2 separate regions of the Homo sapiens genome follow, and region 1 is linked to region 2. Evidence: promoter capture Hi-C in human tissues and cell types (Jung and others, 2019). All regions are on one chromosome and are shown on one strand. The core of a region is centred on a gene start or on the middle of the fragment in contact, and the rest is flanking DNA. Distances in the headings are between cores, read along the strand shown.

Region 1 (4,682 bases), core at 1,572-4,071, 760 kb after region 2:
TTGCCATGCTTTCTGCATAGCATCCCCCTTAAGTTCCCCTTTATCGCTGCTTCCTGGGTTTCATATCTTGTTATTTCCTGCCTCACACTCCCATTTTTCTAGGACACGCTGTTCATTTAGCTTCCTCTGGTAGTGTTTTTGGTCGTTGTGTTTTGTTGAGACCTTGCATGTCTGAAAACATGTTCTGTTCTCCACTTCAAATGTACTTGCTAGATTGGAATTCAAGGCTAAACATTTTTCTCAGTATTATAAGCATTATTTCATTGTCTTAAGACTTTATTGTTGCTGTTAAGCTGTTCTGATTACGTTCTCTTTGTATGTGACCCATTTTTTCCACTCTAGTAACTTATAGGATCTTCCCATTACTTCTGGTTTTCTGCAGTTTCAAGATGGTATATTGTGCTTAGTGTTGGTCTTTTTTCTTTGATGCTCTTATGTAGTCTTGAGCCCTTTCAATTTGGAGAGTTCTGTCCTTCGTTTCTAGAAAAGTTTATTTGGTAATTTTCTCTATATTTTTCTGTAACCACAGTCAAATTATAACTCTCTAGATAATTATTTTCATGTTACATTTGCTATTTCTTTTGGTTCTGCTTTCCAGGAGGTTTCTGCAACTTACTCCCAGTCCTTATGTTGAATTTATTTCAGTATATCTCATTTTAACAAGTATATGGCATTTTGAATTTCCATAAGCTCTTTATAATGCTGTCTTTGTATTCTCACACATCCTGTTCTTATTTTATGAATGAATTTTTTTTATACTTTAAGTTCTAGGGTACACGTGCACAACATGCAGATTTGTTACATATGTATACATGTGCCATGTTGGTGTGCTGCACCCATTAACTCGTCATTTGCAATAGATATTTCTCTTAATGCCATCCTTCCCCCTCCCCCTACCCTAAAACAGGCCCCAGTGTGTGATGTTCCCTGCCCTGTGTCCAAGTGTTCTCACTGTTCAGTTCCCACCCATGAGTGAGAACATGCCATGTTTGGTTTTCTGTCCTTGGCGATAGTTTGCTGAGAATGATGGTTTCCAGCTTCATCTATGTCCCTACAAAGGACATGAACTCATCCTTTTTTATGGCTGCATAGTATTCCATGGTGTATATGTGCCACGTTTGCTTTATCCAGTCTATCATTGATGGGCATTTGGGTTGATTCCAAGTCTTTGCTATTGTGAGTAGTGCCACAGTAAACATACTTGTGCATGTGTCTTTATAGTAGCATGATTTATAATCCTTTGGGTATATACCCAGTAATGGGATGGCTGGGTCAAATGGTATTTCTAGTTCTAGATCCTTGAGGAATCGCCACACTGTCTTCCAGGATGGTTAAACTAGTTTACAGTCCCACCAACAATGTAAAAGTGTTCCTAATTCTCCACATCCTCTCCAGCACCTGTTGTTTCCTGACTTTTTAATGATTGCCATTCTAACTGGTGTGAGATGGTGTCTCGTTGTGGTTTTGATTTGCATTTCTCTGATGACCAGTGATGATGAGCATTTTTTCATGTGTCTGTTGGCTGCATAAATGTCTTCTTTTGAGAAGTGTCTGTTCATATCCTTCGCCCACTTTTTTATAGGGTTGTTTGATTTTTTCTTACGAATTTAAGTTCTTTGTAGATTCTGGATATTAGCTCTTTGTCAGATGGGTAGATTGCAAAAATTTTCTCCCAATGAATGAATGTTATTTGATCCCTGTGAGGATAGAAATAAGCCCCTTTCCCCCAAATTTTCCTCTCCCTGCAACATCTTAAAGTTTTGTTTTTATTGTTGTTTACTTTGGTCCTTCTTTCATATTGGAGGCCTTCCTTGATTACATGGTAGTCCTTGATGTTTGTCAGTTAGAGGGAAGCATTAAAAATTCTGATGAGAAACTCCTGGTGACTAGCAGCCTTTGTTGTAGGATAGAATGGTCTAGTGGAAGGCTAACCTTTAAAGTGGAAACATTTCAGATGACATTCAGAAATCTTATCACGGGTGTTTGGTGATCCAAGAGTAGAATCCCTTAGTCTCCTGACAGCATTGTAGAAACATGACCACAAAAGAGTCTGTGGGTCTCAATACTGAGTATATAAATTTTCTTTTATTCCTTATACTGACCCCATGCCTAAACTCCTGCGGAGATTATTGCATGTCGTGTGTGGGAGATGGGGGGTGGTAGGGACACAAGAGTGTTACCTAGGAAAGATTTATTTGCCAGAGAATAAATATCCTACCTTTAGGGGAATGGAACTGGGGAAGAATCTGAAGCTCTACTACTGCTCCAGATACAGGTTTTGTTTTGTTTTGTTTTGTTTTGTTTTGTTTTGTTTTGTTTTGTTTTGTTTTGTTTTTTGATACCGAGTCTCGCTCTTGCACCCAGGCCAGAGTGCAGTGGCACGATCTCTGCTCACTGCAAGCTCCGCCTCCCGGGTTCACGCCATTCTCCTGCGTCAGCCCCCTAAGTAGCTGGGACTACAGGCGCCCGCTACCACGGCCGGCTAATTTTTTGTAATTTTAGTGGAGACGGGGTTTCACTGTGTTAGCCAGGATGGTCTTGATCTCCTGACCTTGTGATCCGCCTGCCTCAGCCTCCCAAAGTGCTGGGATTACAGGCATGAGCCACCGCCCCCGGCCAGATACAGGTTTTAATTTAACAACTTGCTTTCCAGCCACATGCACCATTACCCCCAACCTGTTGTTATTTTTTTGTGATAAAATACAGAGAACATAAAATTTTACCATCTTAACCATGTTTGTGTACAATTCAGTATTATTGGATATATTCATAATGTTGTGCAAACATCACTATCATCTATCTCCATAATTCTTTTCATCTTGTAAAACCAAAATTTCATACTCATTAAACAACTCCCCATCCCCTGCCAACCACCAATCTTCTTTCTCTATGATTTGACTATAATTATTTTTAATGTATCTTTTCTCTGTTTAGTTATATAAATACTTACCATTGAATTACATTTGTCTACAGTATTCAGTACAGGAACATGCTGTAAAGATTTGCTGCCTAGAAACAATAGGTTATACTATATAATCCAGGTATTAGACTATACCATCTAGGTTTGTGTATGTACACTATTATTTTTGCACAGTGAAGAAATCACCTAAAGACGCATTTCTTAGAATATATTCCTGTTCTTGAGTGATGCATAACTATGCATACAATACAATAATATTCAGCCTTAAAAAAGGAAGGAAATTCTGGCATATGGTACAATATAGATGAACTTTGAGAACATTAGGGTAAGGGAAATAAATTTGCCAATCACGAAAAGACAAATATTGTATGATTCCACTTATATGAGATACAGTCAGAGGCCTTGTAAATCCTTGCCTCAGAATATTTTAAAAGCTTTTTAAGGCTGGGCACGGTGGCTCATGCCTGTAATCCCAGCACTTTGGGAGGCCGAGGCGGGCAGATCACGAAGTCAGGAGATCGAGACCATCCTGGTTAACATGGTGAAACCCCGTCTCTACTAAAAATACAAAAAAATTAGCTGGGCGTGGTGGCGGGAGCCTGTAGTCCCAGCTCCTTGGGAGGCTGAGGCGGGACAATGGCGTGAACCCAGGAGGTGGAGCTTCCAGTGAGCCGAGATCGTGCCACTTCACTCTAGCCTGGGCAACAGAGTGAGACTCCGTCTCAGAAAAAAAAAGCTTTTTAAATTATAGTAGTAACGTGCTTATAGTAGCACTGTTACAACTCCCAAGTGGAAACAATCTAGCGTACATTCATGGTAGAATGGGAAAATAAATTGTGTGCCATATGGTGGAATGCTATGTAAAGAAATTAGAGTGAACTGAAGACTGCATGCAACAACACAGATGAATCTCACAAATATAGTGTTGAGCAAATGAAGTTGGACACAAAAGAGTACTTATTGTATGATTCCGTTTATACGTATTTAATAATCAGGCATAGGTAATCATTACTTTCGTCGTGGGTTTAGAAATGTTTAGTGAGGAAAACTTGGAAATTATTAATCTATAAAGTGGAAAGCACTCAGTTCCACAAAATAACATTTTGTTTTTTTCTTAGAAGTTTTATTCATTTTATTTGCATAAATAGAATCATACTGTATGTGTAGTTTTATAGATTGACCTTTTTACTTAAAATGTTACTTTCCAATAGTACCATAAACAATCTTTGAAAACATTTTGAGAAACACTTTATTAGCTGTGTGATCATGTGCAAATTGCTTAACCTCTCAGTGCCTGTTTTCTTATTTATAAAGTGGAGATAATATAGTACCTGTCTCACAGGGTTGGTCTGGAGAGTCAGTGAACTAACAGATAATCAGAAGGTCTTTACTGTCAGACCTTGCATATAATACTTAATAAATATCAGCTATTGCTATTATTTTTGTTATAATTAAGAGATCCTATGAGTGGTAAATAAAAAGAAAGTTCATTCATTCTTACTTGTGTTTATTGAGTACCTATTGTATCCCAGGCAGTGATTTTAAAATACTTTAAATGATTCTGACCTAGAAAATTCATTGTTGAGATGGGGAAATAGAAAGGTAAACAAATTACAATGCATAGTAGTATCAAAAGTATGTATGAAGTAGAAACATATACAGAGAAGAAAGGTACTTGTGTTTAAACAGATGACCAAGAATTGGGTGGGGAATGTATAGACTTTCCAGGCACATATAAAGGTTTGTAAGAACATAGTGTGTT
Region 2 (4,411 bases), core at 783-3,282:
AATGTTAAATACTCCTAACTAGGCAGTGATGAAGTTACTTCTTTAGTGACTGTGACTTCTGAAACTATAAAGACAAAACTTTTTCAACTAAAAATAATTTAAAGATGATGTCAGTAATGAACATATTTATGTGATTTTCTACTTGCTACTTAAGGAGCTTTGAGAGTAGAGGGAAAAAAATTGCACTGCCTTCAAAGCCCTATTTAACTAAGCAATTTCATCAAAAATTTGGAAATACAGCTGAGAAGAGCCAAAACCAGAAAAATGTGGTACAAATGATAAATTTCATCCATTATACCTTTCTCCCATTATAAAGAAGTCTGGAGCAGGAAATCTTACCAGTCTATTTTCTTAGGATTGTTTCTCTTATATTTTAATATTTCAGATTAGTTAGACTGCTTGGAGTTTTTGTCTTTTGTTTGCATCATTCTTTTATCATTAAGGTTGCTGTCTGGCTTTTTTGTCTGTTGAAAGATTTCGTTTCAAGATAAATTAAATAAAACATTACCATATTTTTCAGCAATGAAACATTTCAGATGGAGAAAGAAGTCAATAGTTTTCTGGTTTAAGTTTGTATTTTTATTTTCAATATTCTATCCTGCCTTGTTTCGGGAATACTTCAAGGCCGCTGATGTGTTTACTGCTCAAATATCAACACAGCAGTAATCAGGCCTTTGAAACTATGGGTGAAAAATCCAGTCCATTTCAGTCTTTTTAATTTATGAAAAGAGATTGTGTGGCATTTTGCTTCCTGTCCCTTTTCATAAGAACTTTAAATATGGACACCCCTCCTGCTGGTGTCTTTATATAGGGAAGCTCTGCGTGAGGTTGAAGTTTTTATGAGGAAACTTGTTTAAAACACAATCGTATTTTAAGGCGGGTTTGCCACAGCAAGGTTAGGGGTTACCAATAAATCGGTTTACAGCAACTTCTCTATTCTCTGCTCCAGACACACCAATGGGGTGACCCGTGCACAATTCCCGCTGGCCACACAAGGCAGCGGCAGTTCTAGTTGATCCTTCCTTCGTCAACTAGATCAACGAAGGCTGTCTTAGAGAGCTTCGGGTATTAAGTGAGCAGAGTCCCTTAGGCCAATTTGGCTGCCTGGGATTCCTGGGAGGATCTTGGAGAACCCAGGACACCCGAATCCCTAGTCCCTATCCTGGTTTTTGCTCTGCTGGAGAATAACAAAACATTTTGGGAACTCAGGAGTTTAATTTACTGCCACCAACCGACAAAATAATAGCATCTTTGTGTGTTCTCTCCCCTCCGTCCCTCCCACCTCCTTCCGACAGAAGCACGACGCTGGCCCTCTGTGAATGTAGCGCAGACAGCACGGGCCAGCCCGGAGCGGTCGCAGGAGGCTCCAGACCCGCGGCCCCAGGGACGCCCGGGAAATCACCGGCCCCAGAACGTCCCCCATTCCTTTTGGGAAATAAAAAGACGCAGCCGGTGAGATGCCTTCTTAGACCTTCCAGCTCATTTAGCTGATTCTGGCCCCAGAAAGTGTGTTTGTGTTTGTGTGTAGTTAAGTGAGGCAGAGAAAATCCAAGAAAGCCGCACAAGCCACCCCAAAGCGTCCACGGAAACTCCAGCTCGGTTAATTGCTCCCATATGTCCTCCTCGGCTGTGGTAAAAAAGCAGCGAGGAGGGAAGGCCGGGTCGCTTTATTGATTTTGAAGAGGCTGTAAAAAAGACTATGGCCCATCTCATTTTGGTCCCAGAGGGGCCTAGGCGCAGCCCCGGGGGACCCGGTGCCCAGAGGGATGGTAGGGTGCTTCAGGCCCGGACCTGGCGCCGAGAGGCGGGACAAGGGGACCTCGCGCCCAAGCCCCGCGGAAAGTTCGCGCTCCGCGCTCCAGCCGGTCCCTGGATCCGCCGCAGCCCGGGGCGGGGAGGGGCGCGGGAGGCGCGGCCGGGGCGGGCGCGCGAGAGGAAGGTGCCTTCGGGAACACGCGCAAGGGCGGGGATTCGCGCTGCCAATGAGGCCCCGGTGTGGGCCGAGCAAGGCGGGGGGACGGGCCGGAGCGGAGGCTTTGCTGTGGCAGCTGCTGGAGCGGCGGCCGCCTCGGGAGCCGGAGGAGAGGCAGCCGCGGAGCGCCGAGCTGGCCTCGCCCCGAGGCCCGGCCCTGGGTGTGGGGAACCGCGCTGAGGAGCTGGAAACTTTCCCGGCAGGTAACTCCCGCAGCCCGGACTCCGCCGCGGGCCTGCGAGCGCCCCGGGCATGGCCAGCTGCCAGTGTGCGGAGAGGTCGAGAGGGACCCGGGGTGGAGAGGGTGATGGGAGAAGGGAAAGGCGTGTGGGAAAGTTTCTGGAGCGCCCCCTCCTCCGCCGGGCACACCCGGGAGCTTTCCGGGAATAGGCACAGACATGTTGGGCGCCCCGGGCCTTGGTCTCTCGGCGGCTTTGGGGAGTCCGCACCTTCCTTGCGCGGTTCCCCCGCGCCGGACCGAGCCGGCCTCCCCTGGAACCGGTGTGGTGGGAACCGGGAACGCTTGGGGCACGCTCGAGTTCTGGGACCACCCCCGCCCGGCGCGCCCGCTCGCCCCCTTTCCCGCCTTCTCTGTAGCCCTCGGGCTTGGCAAGGGCCTGGGCTACGCCTGGTACCTGGCGCGGGGGAGGCGGGGGGAGGCGCGCCTGGCACCGCGGGGTCCTGGGCGCCCCCCGGAGTGTTGGGGTGCGCGGGTCGCGAAGTTGCCGAGAGAACTTAAGCCGGAGGCATGGTATTGCCCCAGTCTGGGCTGAAAGTCTATTGCTTTGCTTCCAAGAACACTGCGATTAGCATATCCACACTCCTTTATTGGGGGTGGGGGTGAGTTAGGATTAGACGTTGGGGGTTTTTCTTTAGGGGTGGGGCGCTGAGAAGAGCGGTAATTGTCAAGATTGTGAGCCCCCTTGTTCTTGGATGCAGAGTGGTCATTTTCGGGGGACGATATCAGGGCACTGGCTTCCTGGAGGACTTTGGGGTGCGGGCGCGCAGCGCTGTGGGTGTGCGGGGCTCCCGGCTTTGGCGCGGCGGCTTTCCGGAACGCCTGGCTGGGAAGGAAGCTCTAGGCATTGTGTGGTGTGTTTGCAGACAGAAAGGTCCCTGGACCGGTGTTCTCAAAACTTACTGGACTTATTGTGTAAAGCTCCGGGAGGAAATGTGGCGTTGGCCAGGTAGAAACGCGGCGCTGCGGCCAAGGGGCGGAGGACGCCAGGCTCGGCAACGGCCTTCTCCCAGCCCCCTCCTGCCAGCTCCAGATCCGCGTGCCTCCAGTGTTGGGACCGTTCTCAGTGGCGTTGTTCCCTGCTGGAGTTAACTTGGGAGGTGAGGAGGGAACTTTCATCTTGAACTTGACCCCAGAAGCAGCGTCGTCCGTACAGGTTACAAGGTAAATGGAAGCTGAGTCTTAACGTGGGTTGGACCGCAAACTCTGGCTGGCGCGGAAAGGAAGTTCCTGGTTCAGAATCTTTGAGGAAAGGGCTCAAGATTGCTGAGATCGCTCGCTCTGGAAATGCCAGACACACCAGACTGCAGAAGTTAATGCGTGTTTGGAGGGGTGGGGGTGGGAGAGGAAAGGAGAAACCTGGTTAGTTGGCACAGAGGGCTGGTATTTCTCTGTAGTGGAAATGAAGGGAGTCTGCGTCTCTGCTTTCACCAGATCCGCTACCCTCTTTTTTCCTTCCTTGGTCATCTTTATTCCTGCCAGGCTGGCACTCCTGAGGCAGGGGAGGGGAAGGAGAGGAAAGCAGTTGTGAAGCTTCCTGGGTCAGCCTGGAGGTATTTCAGATCTGCTACTAGGAAGATTCCAGGATTTTAACAGCTGCTTCTTGATTGCTGGGAATGAAGGAGTTTATGAGCGGCTGAGACTACTTCATTATAGAAGTAGTCTGAGTGTTTTACTCATCTAAGCTACTTAAAGACCTCACAAGGGACCTTCCCTAGAGTATGCCAGTTTCTGCAGTTTGTGTCAGCCAGAATGCTTGGTGAGTGTTAGTCAAAAAGCATCATAAATATATCCTGGTGGTTCTGAAATGAAAAGTATGTGGCAGTAAAGGAAGTATGGTATCTGATATCCTTCAGGACTTCCTCCTAGGGTTGTTCCTGTTACCTGCCAAGTGAACTTGGTTCAGGCTTCCGGACTGTTGTGATTTGACAATAAGAGATGGGAAATAGTGTCATCGATTTTAGTGGAAGCAGGAAAAGTCCACAAATAAATTTAAGGTGAGTTTTTATGACCCTGTCTTGCACATGTGGTGCCCCAAACTTAACTTTTTGGCACCAAGCCTTTTGGTTTGAAGTGTTGCTGGAACTTGGAAGCAATGGTTTTCCTGCTTTCTTGGTTTAACCACCAGAATGCCCAAATTATTATAATTTATATCCATCCTTGATCTAAGATATAACTGATTCATAGTCAGCCTTTTTCTG

Evidence for each region. The method cuts DNA at HindIII sites, captures the fragments that hold promoters and counts their contacts. A contact is called where the count stands out against the background at its distance.
Region 1: a contact is called between a fragment that was not itself captured here and the fragment with the promoter of TANC1 in region 2, in 1 of the 25 tissues and cell types used here (dorsolateral prefrontal cortex).

What each region holds. Positions count from the first base shown.
Region 1 is chr2:159,723,944-159,728,625 of GRCh38, forward strand. All of the region lies in intron 3 of MARCHF7 (membrane associated ring-CH-type finger 7), which reads left to right. Among named protein-coding and RNA genes, the nearest start is that of MARCHF7, 14 kb to the left of the region's middle. The HindIII fragment of the contact is 4,142 bases long and covers 751-4,682 here.
Region 2 is chr2:158,966,608-158,971,018 of GRCh38, forward strand. It overlaps TANC1 (tetratricopeptide repeat, ankyrin repeat and coiled-coil containing 1), which reads left to right and starts at 2,033. Exons shown (of 27, transcript NM_033394.3): 1 at 2,033-2,175. RefSeq lists silencers at 1,819-1,928, 1,989-2,068. The HindIII fragment of the contact is 16,038 bases long and covers 1-4,411 here.